Linked DNA regions of Homo sapiens: all the other regions are linked to region 4. Evidence: promoter capture Hi-C in 16 types of primary human blood cells and fetal thymus (Javierre and others, 2016). All regions are on one chromosome and are shown on one strand. Each heading gives the region's core, a stretch centred on a gene start or on the middle of the fragment in contact. The rest is flanking DNA. Distances are from core to core; before and after follow the strand shown. Region 1 has its middle 19 kb from the start of ALG2. Region 2 has its middle 56 kb from the start of ALG2. Region 3 overlaps TGFBR1 (transforming growth factor beta receptor 1). Region 4 holds the start of MSANTD3-TMEFF1 (MSANTD3-TMEFF1 readthrough).

What was found. The method cuts DNA at HindIII sites, captures the fragments that hold promoters and counts their contacts. A CHiCAGO score of 5 or more calls a contact.
Region 1: a contact is called between a fragment that was not itself captured here and the fragment with the promoter of MSANTD3-TMEFF1 in region 4, in 1 of 17 cell types (naive CD8 T cells). The highest score is 5.1, in naive CD8 T cells.
Region 2: a contact is called between a fragment that was not itself captured here and the fragment with the promoter of MSANTD3-TMEFF1 in region 4, in 9 of 17 cell types (total B cells, fetal thymus, total CD8 T cells and 6 more). The highest score is 10.9, in total B cells.
Region 3: a fragment that was not itself captured here is called in contact with the fragment with the promoter of MSANTD3-TMEFF1 in region 4 in 5 of 17 cell types (naive B cells, total B cells, M2 macrophages and 2 more); the score reaches 10.8 in naive B cells.

The regions. Positions count from the first base shown.
Region 1 is chr9:99,201,620-99,204,319 of GRCh38, forward strand. No RefSeq gene overlaps it. Among named protein-coding and RNA genes, the nearest start is that of ALG2, 19 kb to the right of the region's middle. RefSeq lists an enhancer at 1,647-1,816. The HindIII fragment of the contact is 5,389 bases long and covers 1-2,700 here.
Region 2 is chr9:99,164,928-99,167,627 of GRCh38, forward strand. No RefSeq gene overlaps it. Among named protein-coding and RNA genes, the nearest start is that of ALG2, 56 kb to the right of the region's middle. RefSeq lists an enhancer at 2,220-2,514. The HindIII fragment of the contact is 3,039 bases long and covers 1-2,700 here.
Region 3 is chr9:99,148,790-99,151,489 of GRCh38, forward strand. TGFBR1 (transforming growth factor beta receptor 1) reads left to right here. Exons shown (of 9, transcript NM_004612.4): 9 at 391-2,700. The coding sequence ends at 516. Among named protein-coding and RNA genes, the nearest start is that of TGFBR1, 45 kb to the left of the region's middle. The HindIII fragment of the contact is 187 bases long and covers 1,247-1,433 here.
Region 4 is chr9:100,440,562-100,443,261 of GRCh38, forward strand. It overlaps MSANTD3-TMEFF1 (MSANTD3-TMEFF1 readthrough), which reads left to right and starts at 1,345. Exons shown (of 10, transcript NM_001198812.1): 1 at 1,345-1,795. The coding sequence starts at 1,378. It overlaps MSANTD3 (Myb/SANT DNA binding domain containing 3), which reads left to right. Exons shown (of 3, transcript NM_080655.3): 2 at 1,345-1,795. The coding sequence starts at 1,378. The HindIII fragment of the contact is 4,285 bases long and covers 1,276-2,700 here.

The sequences.
Region 1 (2,700 bases), core at 73-2,572, 1.2 Mb before region 4:
CCAGTCACCTTCACAAGATGGGTTGATTGTTCTTCAAGATTAGACCGAGTTGCCTTATTATCCATCCCAGACAACAAGGCATCTCACCCAAACAGACGCATTTGCAGGAACAGCCAGCACACCGGCCAGATTTGAATTGCTAATGTATAATCTGCCCGGCACAGATGTGCAATGAATATTTGGATGTTGTTTTGCCCGTCAGTTGAGGAGGATGAATTGATGAGGTGATGAGTATTCAATGATGGGTCCTGGATGTTGGCCAACAGCAGAGGTTGAGCACTTGCATGGATGATCATCAGATTACCCCCCAAAGTGCCTGTGCCATAATTCAGCAGCAAATTCTAGGACAGTCTAGCAGAGTGTACTTCTGGTTGGTGGAAAGTTCCCTTTCTTTTCTGGTACAATTAGATGTTTCGCTGTGTTTTTCAGGCTTAGGAAAGATATAGAAGTTGCCTTTATTGCCCTTCCCTGCCAACTCTTAAGGATATGAATAATGGTTCAGGAGCTAACTACTTGGGTTTCAATTTAGCTTCAGCATTTTCTAGCTCATTTTCTTAAGTTATTTGTGCCTCTGTTTCCTCATTTGTTAAAACAGATTGAAAAATTCTACCACCCATCTAGAACTATTGTGAGGATTAAATCAGATAATGTACACAGACTAAGTGCTAGAACAGTGCCTAGTGCATAGTACATGCTGAAAAGATGTTACCTGTTACTGTATTGTTGGTCATTTGCTTTCTCTCAGTATTACTGTGGTCAAGTAGCTTGGATACACTGGAAATAAAATTAATCCATTTTCATTACCTCAGGAGAGCTCATGGCCTATAGTATGCTACTTTCCCTGGTACATTTCTGATAGAAAATGTACCTTTCCTATAGGAATGGAAGTTTTCCTATAGTTATATAACCATGGAGCCCTTTTTCCTGAAGCATTTTTTACAGCTTATTTTCCTTGGAACATATTATAGGAAAAGCAGCTCTAGAAGGTAAACATTTACAAAGTTTTGAAAGAAAAACATGTGACTCAAGAATTTTATATATAATCAAGCTATTTATATGCAAGACAATGGGAATTATACAAATGCATATATTCTCTCTGAAAAAATGTTATTCAAAGATGTGTTCCATAGAAAGGGAACAATGAATCTAAGGTAGAAACCAGTGAGACCAGTTGATTGTACTGAAGTAAGTCCAAACAACTGCGGCAAATATATTATCAAACTTGAAATAAAAAAATTAAAATATTTGAAAGAAATTATTTATATTGAAATAATGGGATAATGAAATACATCAATGAATAGCAGAAGAATGAAGAAAATCAGAAGGGAAAGCAAGTGTCCTTTTTAAGAAAAAAAAGGATGGTACAAAGAATATATACACATATACACATATATATTATGTATATATGTATTACACTTGTGTGTGTAGATACATACAGTGTACACATATACAGGTGTGTATATATGTGTGTGTACATATATACAGGTCTGTATATATGTGTATATATATGTGTGTGTGAGTATATATGTGTGTATATATATGTGTGTGTGTATATACACACACAGGTGTAATAAGAGCAACCTCAGTAATCTTTAATAAAATATTAAAAACCAATACTATAAGAAAAAACACTAAATCTAAGATTTCTCTATTTATTAGACAAACCAAAAAATATTCAAAATTAAAATATGGGTAAAATATGATTATTTAACGTGAACAAAGAGAAAGTCAGGTCTGAGGATATTAGTATTGAACAATGCAGAATTATGTAAGTCAAAGAGTATTAAACTGCTAATTTCATTTCTTTATCTTCAGTGCTATGCACAGGGTAGGTCCTAAATATATATGAGTAAGATTTATTGTGGAAGTAGAAGCAACGAGTGAAAGGTATGTGAGAAGGCATGATTTGCCTGCAAGGACCTCTTGAGGGTAAGTTTAAAAATAAATTTATTGACACACAATATTTGTACATATTGACAGTGTAACATGACATTTTGTTGCATGCATACAATGTGTAATGATCAAGTCAGGGTATTTGGGGTATTCACCATCTTGAGTATTTACCATTTCTTGGTGTTGGGAACATTTCAGGTTATCTTCTAGCTAATTTGAAATATACAATACATTGTTGTTAACTATAATCACCCTACTCTGCTATTGAACATTAGAACTTATTTCTTCAATCTAACTGTATATTTGTATCCATTAACCAACCTCTCTTCAACCCTCCGACCCCCTCCCAGCCTCTGGTAACTATTTTTCTACTTTATCTCCATGAGATCAATTTTCTTTTCTTTTCTTTTCTTTTTTTTTTTTTTGAGACCGAGTCTCGCTCTGTTGCCCAGGCTGGAGTGCAATGGCAGGATCTCGGCTCACTGCAACCTCCGCCTCCTGGGTTCAAGCGATTCTCTTGCCTCAGCCTCCTGAGCAGCTGGGATTATAGGCACCCGCCACCACGCCCGGCTAATTTTTTTGTATTTTTAGTAGAGACGGGGTTTCACCATGTTGGACAGGCTGGTCTCAAACTCGTGACCTCAGGTGATCCACCCACCTCGACCGCCCAAAGTGCTGTGATTACAGGTGTGAGCCAGCCCACCCAGCTGAGATCAACTTTTTTAGTGCCCACATATAAGTGAGAACGTATTTGTCTGTCTATGCCTGGCTTATTTCACCTAACATAATGACTTCCAGTTCCATCCA
Region 2 (2,700 bases), core at 102-2,601, 1.3 Mb before region 4:
CCCCCACCACCTCTCTGATTTTTTTTCTTACCTTCTGAAACTCCTACTGAATTGATGGATGCTAGCCTCCTGGAGCTTTCCTGTTTCTAGACTTTTAGTTTTTACTATGCTGACTTTTTTCTGTATTTCTGGAGATTTCATTGACTTCCACACAACTGCTCTGGCTTTTGGTCTTGGCCATTCTATTATTCCTGTTTGCTGAATTTTTAAAATTTTGACCCTTATTTTACATTTCTAGAAATTATTTCTTGTTCTCCGATGGCTCCTTTTTTACGGCAGCTGGCTCTTGTTTTGGAGATTTCATTCTCTCACATCTCTCCAGAGATACTAATTAGGGTTTTATCTTTAACATTACCTACTTCATCTTGTTTTTTTTTTCCAGGATGACGTTGTGTTTACTCATGTTTGTTCAACTTGGTTGTGCTATTGGTTTTCCTCAAATATTTGGGGCTCCATGGCTCTCCGTCGACTTTCCTAAATGAAGGATTAGATTAATCTGTATGGATAGCTGGTGTGGCCTGCTTTCACAAGAGGCGTCTCCCTGGAAGGGGAGGGCCAGTTCAGGTCCCCTTGAGTGGCTGGGCCATATTGTCAGCAGGCTCACCTCTAGATTGCAGCAGGCAGCCTGGGATGCCCACGCCTGCCAAGGTAAGGAGGTATTTAAATAACGGACTGGAGTATTTAGCTATAATTTCCTTTTGGACAGAGGACTTTCTACCACCCCTCCATGCCTTCTGATATGGTTTGGCTTTATGTCTCCACCCAGATCTCATCTTGAATTGTAATCCCATAATCCCCTCGTGTCCTGGGAGGTACCTGGTTGGAGGTAATTGAATCATGGGGGCGGTTTCCCTCGGTGCTGTTCTCGTGATAGTGAGTGAGTTCTCATGAGACCTGATAGTTACAGGGGCTTCCCCCTTCACTTAGCACTCATTTTCTCTCTTGCCACCAGGTGAGGAAGGACGTATTTTCTTCCCCTTCCGCCATGATTGTAAGTTTTCTGAGGCCTCCCCAGCCATGCTAAACTGTGAGTCATTTAAATCTCTTTTCTTTATAAGTTACCCAGTCTCGGGTATGTCTTTATTAGCAGCGTGAGAATGGAGTAATACACCCTCTCAACCCAAACTTGCCATATATATTTGTTGGGGAGGCCTACATAGACTTCCAACCCTGTTCTTGTTCTGCTTCTCTCTTGACTTTAGACACCTATATTAGGATCCCTTCCTGGATAGATCACCCACATTTTTTAAGAATAATGATTGGGTCCTAGGTACCCAAAGGGCAAAATTACCACTAGTTGTTCCTTTACGGGTTGAGCATATGTTGAGCAGGGGAAGGGAGAAGGGAGGGGCCCCGAATGTCCCAGCCACTGTGAATGCAGCTCTTTGCTCAGTTACTCTGATGGTTATCCTATGGTCTACTCTTGCTTTCTGTCTCTTGTTTCTGAGTTTGGGGTTTCTCTAGGGCTCCCTTGAGAAGGAAAGTTCTTGGTACTGGTGTTTGGGGCTGTGGTTTACCTTTGTACTTTCTCAGTTGATCTGATCCCATCTACTTTTTCTTTTCTTTTCTTTTCTTTTTTTTTTTTTTTTTTGAGACAGAGTCTTGCTGTGTTGCCCAGGCTAGAGTGCAGTGGCACCATCTGGGCTCACTGCAACCTCCGCCTCCTGGGTTCAAGCAATTCTCATGCCTCAGCCTCCCAAGTAGCTGGGATTATAGGCATGCGCCACCACACCTAATTTTGTATTTTTCGCAGAGATGGGGTTTCACCATGTTGGCCAGGCTGGTCTTGAACTCCTGACCTCAGGTGATCCGCCCATCTTGGCTTCCCAAAGTGCTGGGATTACAAGTGTGAGCCACCGCACCCAGCCAATCCCATCTACTTTCTAGCTTCCAGTATTTTCTCAGACTTTCTCATCTGCTGGCACCCTGTCTTGCTTTCCAGCACTGATCTGATTTCACTCTTTAAAAAATATATTTTATCCCCATGGATCCATGGTGTAGTGGAGAGGTGGATGCATGTGCTCAATTTGTGACTTCCAAACTAATATATTTTTCAAACTTAATTTTTTTTCCTAATTCACATGGTTCAGAAGATACTGAAAGGTCTATCAAGAGGGTACAGGAAAAAATTTTTAAAGGTACTAAAAGGATATATAAAGTGAAAATGTCCCTTTCATCCTATCCCAGATAAAGACTACAGGTTGTCCTCTTATATTTATTCTGCCCTTCTTTCTTTAGAAACAAAATCTCCAATTTTAGCTATACTCATGAATGCTCAGCTAAGGAGGGCGTTTCCTAGTTGTGTCCAAGTCACTGAGTTCTGGCCAGTGGGAGGTGAGTGGAGGCCATGTGCTTAACGTTCAGTGGCTCTCCTAGAGGGCGTGGATGTGCCTTTCACTTTCTTTACTCCCCCTTTCTTATTGGCTGGATTGCAGAGGTGATGGTGAGCCATCCTCCTCCCTGCAGAGGAAGGCAACACTGTAGTGATGGCAGAGCCACACAATGGAATGATCCTGGGTCCCTGACACTTCGTCACCATTATACCTGCCCTGCTTTGTGAGACAGAATTGAAATGCTATCTTGTTTAAGCCTTGCATTTTGGGGTCACTTCTTATGACAGACAGCCTAGTCTGTCTGCTAATTGATATAATCTCTGGGCTATTCAGCTCACCTTCCTGGAGGCAACCAATGTAACCATAT
Region 3 (2,700 bases), core at 90-2,589, 1.3 Mb before region 4:
CCATTGCATTCCACTTTGGGCGGCAGAGTGAGACCCTGTCTCAAAAAAAAAAAAAAGAAAGAAAAATTTGATGTGAATACTTCAAAGTACAAACTTAAAATTTCAGTGTGAGGTCAGATTTCTTCTTTGCTTTGCCCAGCTCTGGTTTAGGATTCGGCCTTTTCAGGTTTGCTAAATGAGTCACTCTTTGTCCACCTGCTTTCCAGCACTGGCACCAGTACCCTATTGATGGAAATTTATGTAATTTCTACTCATTTGCTATTACAAATAATGCTTAAACAATAACAAGTGTATATGTCATTTAAAAAGAAAATTTACACGTAAAAATTCTTATCCAGACCAATGGAAAATGGTGCATGCATTAATTTTTTTTTTTATATTTTCTTGTAGGCCTTGAGAGTAATGGCTAAAATTATGAGAGAATGTTGGTATGCCAATGGAGCAGCTAGGCTTACAGCATTGCGGATTAAGAAAACATTATCGCAACTCAGTCAACAGGAAGGCATCAAAATGTAATTCTACAGCTTTGCCTGAACTCTCCTTTTTTCTTCAGATCTGCTCCTGGGTTTTAATTTGGGAGGTCAATTGTTCTACCTCACTGAGAGGGAACAGAAGGATATTGCTTCCTTTTGCAGCAGTGTAATAAAGTCAATTAAAAACTTCCCAGGATTTCTTTGGACCCAGGAAACAGCCATGTGGGTCCTTTCTGTGCACTATGAACGCTTCTTTCCCAGGACAGAAAATGTGTAGTCTACCTTTATTTTTTATTAACAAAACTTGTTTTTTAAAAAGATGATTGCTGGTCTTAACTTTAGGTAACTCTGCTGTGCTGGAGATCATCTTTAAGGGCAAAGGAGTTGGATTGCTGAATTACAATGAAACATGTCTTATTACTAAAGAAAGTGATTTACTCCTGGTTAGTACATTCTCAGAGGATTCTGAACCACTAGAGTTTCCTTGATTCAGACTTTGAATGTACTGTTCTATAGTTTTTCAGGATCTTAAAACTAACACTTATAAAACTCTTATCTTGAGTCTAAAAATGACCTCATATAGTAGTGAGGAACATAATTCATGCAATTGTATTTTGTATACTATTATTGTTCTTTCACTTATTCAGAACATTACATGCCTTCAAAATGGGATTGTACTATACCAGTAAGTGCCACTTCTGTGTCTTTCTAATGGAAATGAGTAGAATTGCTGAAAGTCTCTATGTTAAAACCTATAGTGTTTGAATTCAAAAAGCTTATTTATCTGGGTAACCCAAACTTTTTCTGTTTTGTTTTTGGAAGGGTTTTTGTGGTATGTCATTTGGTATTCTATTCTGAAAATGCCTTTCTCCTACCAAAATGTGCTTAAGCCACTAAAGAAATGAAGTGGCATTAATTAGTAAATTATTAGCATGGTCATGTTTGAATATTCTCACATCAAGCTTTTGCATTTTAATTGTGTTGTCTAAGTATACTTTTAAAAAATCAAGTGGCACTCTAGATGCTTATAGTACTTTAATATTTGTAGCATACAGACTAATTTTTCTAAAAGGGAAAGTCTGTCTAGCTGCTTGTGAAAAGTTATGTGGTATTCTGTAAGCCATTTTTTTCTTTATCTGTTCAAAGACTTATTTTTTAAGACATGAATTACATTTAAAATTAGAATATGGTTAATATTAAATAATAGGCCTTTTTCTAGGAAGGCGAAGGTAGTTAATAATTTGAATAGATAACAGATGTGCAAGAAAGTCACATTTGTTATGTATGTAGGAGTAAACGTTCGGTGGATCCTCTGTCTTTGTAACTGAGGTTAGAGCTAGTGTGGTTTTGAGGTCTCACTACACTTTGAGGAAGGCAGCTTTTAATTCAGTGTTTCCTTATGTGTGCGTACATTGCAACTGCTTACATGTAATTTATGTAATGCATTCAGTGCACCCTTGTTACTTGGGAGAGGTGGTAGCTAAAGAACATTCTGAGTATAGGTTTTTCTCCATTTACAGATGTCTTTGGTCAAATATTGAAAGCAAACTTGTCATGGTCTTCTTACATTAAGTTGAAACTAGCTTATAATAACTGGTTTTTACTTCCAATGCTATGAAGTCTCTGCAGGGCTTTTACAGTTTTCGAAGTCCTTTTATCACTGTGATCTTATTCTGAGGGGAGAAAAAACTATCATAGCTCTGAGGCAAGACTTCGACTTTATAGTGCTATCAGTTCCCCGATACAGGGTCAGAGTAACCCATACAGTATTTTGGTCAGGAAGAGAAAGTGGCCATTTACACTGAATGAGTTGCATTCTGATAATGTCTTATCTCTTATACGTAGAATAAATTTGAAAGACTATTTGATCTTAAAACCAAAGTAATTTTAGAATGAGTGACATATTACATAGGAATTTAGTGTCAATTTCATGTGTTTAAAAACATCATGGGAAAAATGCTTAGAGGTTACTATTTTGACTACAAAGTTGAGTTTTTTTCTGTAGTTACCATAATTTCATTGAAGCAAATGAATGAGTTTGAGAGGTTTGTTTTTATAGTTGTGTTGTATTACTTGTTTAATAATAATCTCTAATTCTGTGATCAGGTACTTTTTTTGTGGGGGTTTTTTTTTTGTTTTTTTTTTTTTGTTGTTGTTTTTGGGCCATTTCTAAGCCTACCAGATCTGCTTTATGAAATCCAGGGGACCAATGCATTTTATCACTAAA
Region 4 (2,700 bases), core at 95-2,594:
ACATGCCACAGAGTGATGAAAACGTCAAATTTTTTTTTTTTTTTTTTTGAGACAGTGTCTCCTTTGTCATCCAGGCTGGAGTGCGGTGGTGCAAACATGGCTCACTGTAGCCTCGACCTCCTGGGCTCAAGCAGTCCTCCTACCTCAGCCTCCCAAGTAGCTGGGATTACAGGTGCATGCCACCACACCTGGCTATTTTTTTTTCTTCTTTTTCTTCCCTTTTTTTTTTTTTTTTTTTTTTTTTTTAGAGACAGGGTTTTGCCTTGTTGCCCATGCTAGTCTCGAACTCCTGGGCTCAAGCAATTTACCTACCTCAGCCTCCCAAAGTGCTGGGATTACAGGTGTGAGCCACTGTGCCCGGCTGTACATCTTTTTTTTTTTTTTTTTTTTTTGAGATGGAGTCTCACTCTGTCACCCAGGCTGGATTGCAGTGGCACGATCTTGGCTCACTGCAACCTCCACCTCCCGGGTTCAAGTAGTTCTCCTGCCTCAGCCTCCTGACTAGCTGGGATTACAGGCGCACGCCACCACGCCCAGCTAATTTTTGTATTTTTAGTAGAGATGGGGTTTCACCATGCTGGTCAGGCTGGTCTGGAACTCCTGACCTCGTGGTCCGCCTGCCTCAGCCTCCCACATCATATTTTATATTTGAGTACACGGTGGCTTCTTTTGTCCTCAGCTGTGACAAAAGTTTTGGAAAGCTGTTTAGTTCTAAAACTGGCTAACATGATTTGGGGGAATAATCAGTTCCCTAATATTAAAGAAAAATCAATTAACAAATCAGAGTCTAGGCCGGGCGTGGTGGCTCACGCCTGTAATCCCAGCACTTTGGGAGGCCGAGGCAGGCAGATCACTTGAGGTCAGTAGTTCGAGACCAGCCTGCCCAACATGGTGAAACCCTGTCTCTACCAAAACTACAAAAAAAAAATTAGCCGGGCGTGGTGACAGGCACCTGTAATCCCAGCTACTCAGGAGGCTGAGGCAGGAGAATTGCCTGAACCCGGGAGGTGGAGGTTGCAGTGAGCTCAGGTCGTGCCACTGCACTCCAGCCTGGGTGACAAGAGCGAGACTCCGTTTCAAAAAAAAAATGTTCAACTTTTCTTTTTTTGCTGTTATATACCAGATAGTCACAGTATAGCCACAACAATCCACTTTGAAATAAAACCCCATTCCTAGTACATTTCTAAATATTCTCCAGAGTCCTGAATATCATAATTCAACCTTAATGGAAAAGAAAGTACTGTATTTCAGACAAGGGAATCAAGTCAGGAATTAAGCTTCAGTGATTTATAGGCATTGTTTTTGCTGGAGTTGGTAATCATTGCTTCAAACTTCCTTTTACAGGATAGCTAGCGGCCAGGAGAAATACAGTGGAAAATGCAAAACAACGAAATTATAAAGCCTGCCAAATACTTCTCAGAATTGGAAAAGAGCATCCTGCTGGCTTTAGTAGAAAAGTATAAATATGTGCTGGAATGTAAGAAAAGTGATGCGCGAACTATTGCCCTTAAGCAGCGTACCTGGCAGGCGCTGGCCCACGAATACAACTCTCAGCCCAGCGTGTCCCTGCGGGATTTCAAACAGCTGAAGAAGTGCTGGGAGAACATCAAGGCTCGGACCAAAAAAATTATGGCCCATGAAAGGAGAGAGAAAGTGAAACGGAGCGTCAGCCCTCTCCTGAGTACCCACGTCCTAGGGAAGGAGAAGATCGCCAGCATGCTGCCGGAGCAGCTCTACTTCCTGCAGAGCCCCCCGGAGGAGGAGCCCGAATACCACCCCGACGCCTCAGCCCAAGGTATCCGTTCCTGATGCCAGTGTGCACGCTCTCACTGGGTATCTGTTTGACATTTTAATTTTAAAACCCTCCACTTTGAGGGAACTTCTAAAAATGAAACTTTTGTATCAAATCCAATTTTCCTAATTCAAGATCTCAGGATTATATAGGACATTCAAAGTCTTATAGAAGTGGGCGTGGTGGCTCGTGCCTGTAATCCCAGCACTTTGGGATGCTGAGGCGGGAGGATGGCTTGAGCTCAGGAATTTGAGACCACCCTGGGCAACAAAGTGAGACCCCTGTTTCTACAAAAAATAGAAAAAATTAGCTGGGCATGGTAGCATGCACCTGTAGTTCCAGCTACTCGGGAGGCTGAGGCTGGAGGATAACTTGAGCCCAGGAGGTGGAAGCTGCAGTGAGCTGTTATTGCGCCACTGCACTCCAGCCTGGGTGACGGAGTGAGACCCTGTCTCAAAAAAAAAAAAAAAAAAAAAGTAATATATAAAAACAAAAGTACTTGTTTACATCATTGTGCTAGCTCTCTTGGAGACTTTATTATTACTTAAACATAAAGAAAAATAAGGGACTGGATTAATGGAGTTCTTATTAGTGAGGTGCTGCAGTTGCCTATCAGCCTGTCTCAAATATGTTAAAGAGAATTGTATGAAGATTTGTATTCATCCACTCAATTTCACTTTTTTCAAAAAATATTTTTGGAGGTCCTTATTATTTGCAAAGCATTGCAGTAGGCCACTCAAAAGGCCATATTAAAAGAGTCAACCGGCTGGGTTCTGTGGCTCATGCCTGTAATCCCAGCACTTTGGGAGGCTGAGGTGGGCGGATCACCCGAGGTTGGGAGTTTGAGACCAGCCTGACCAACATGGAGAAACCCCGTCTCTACTAAAAATACAAAATTAGCCGGGCGT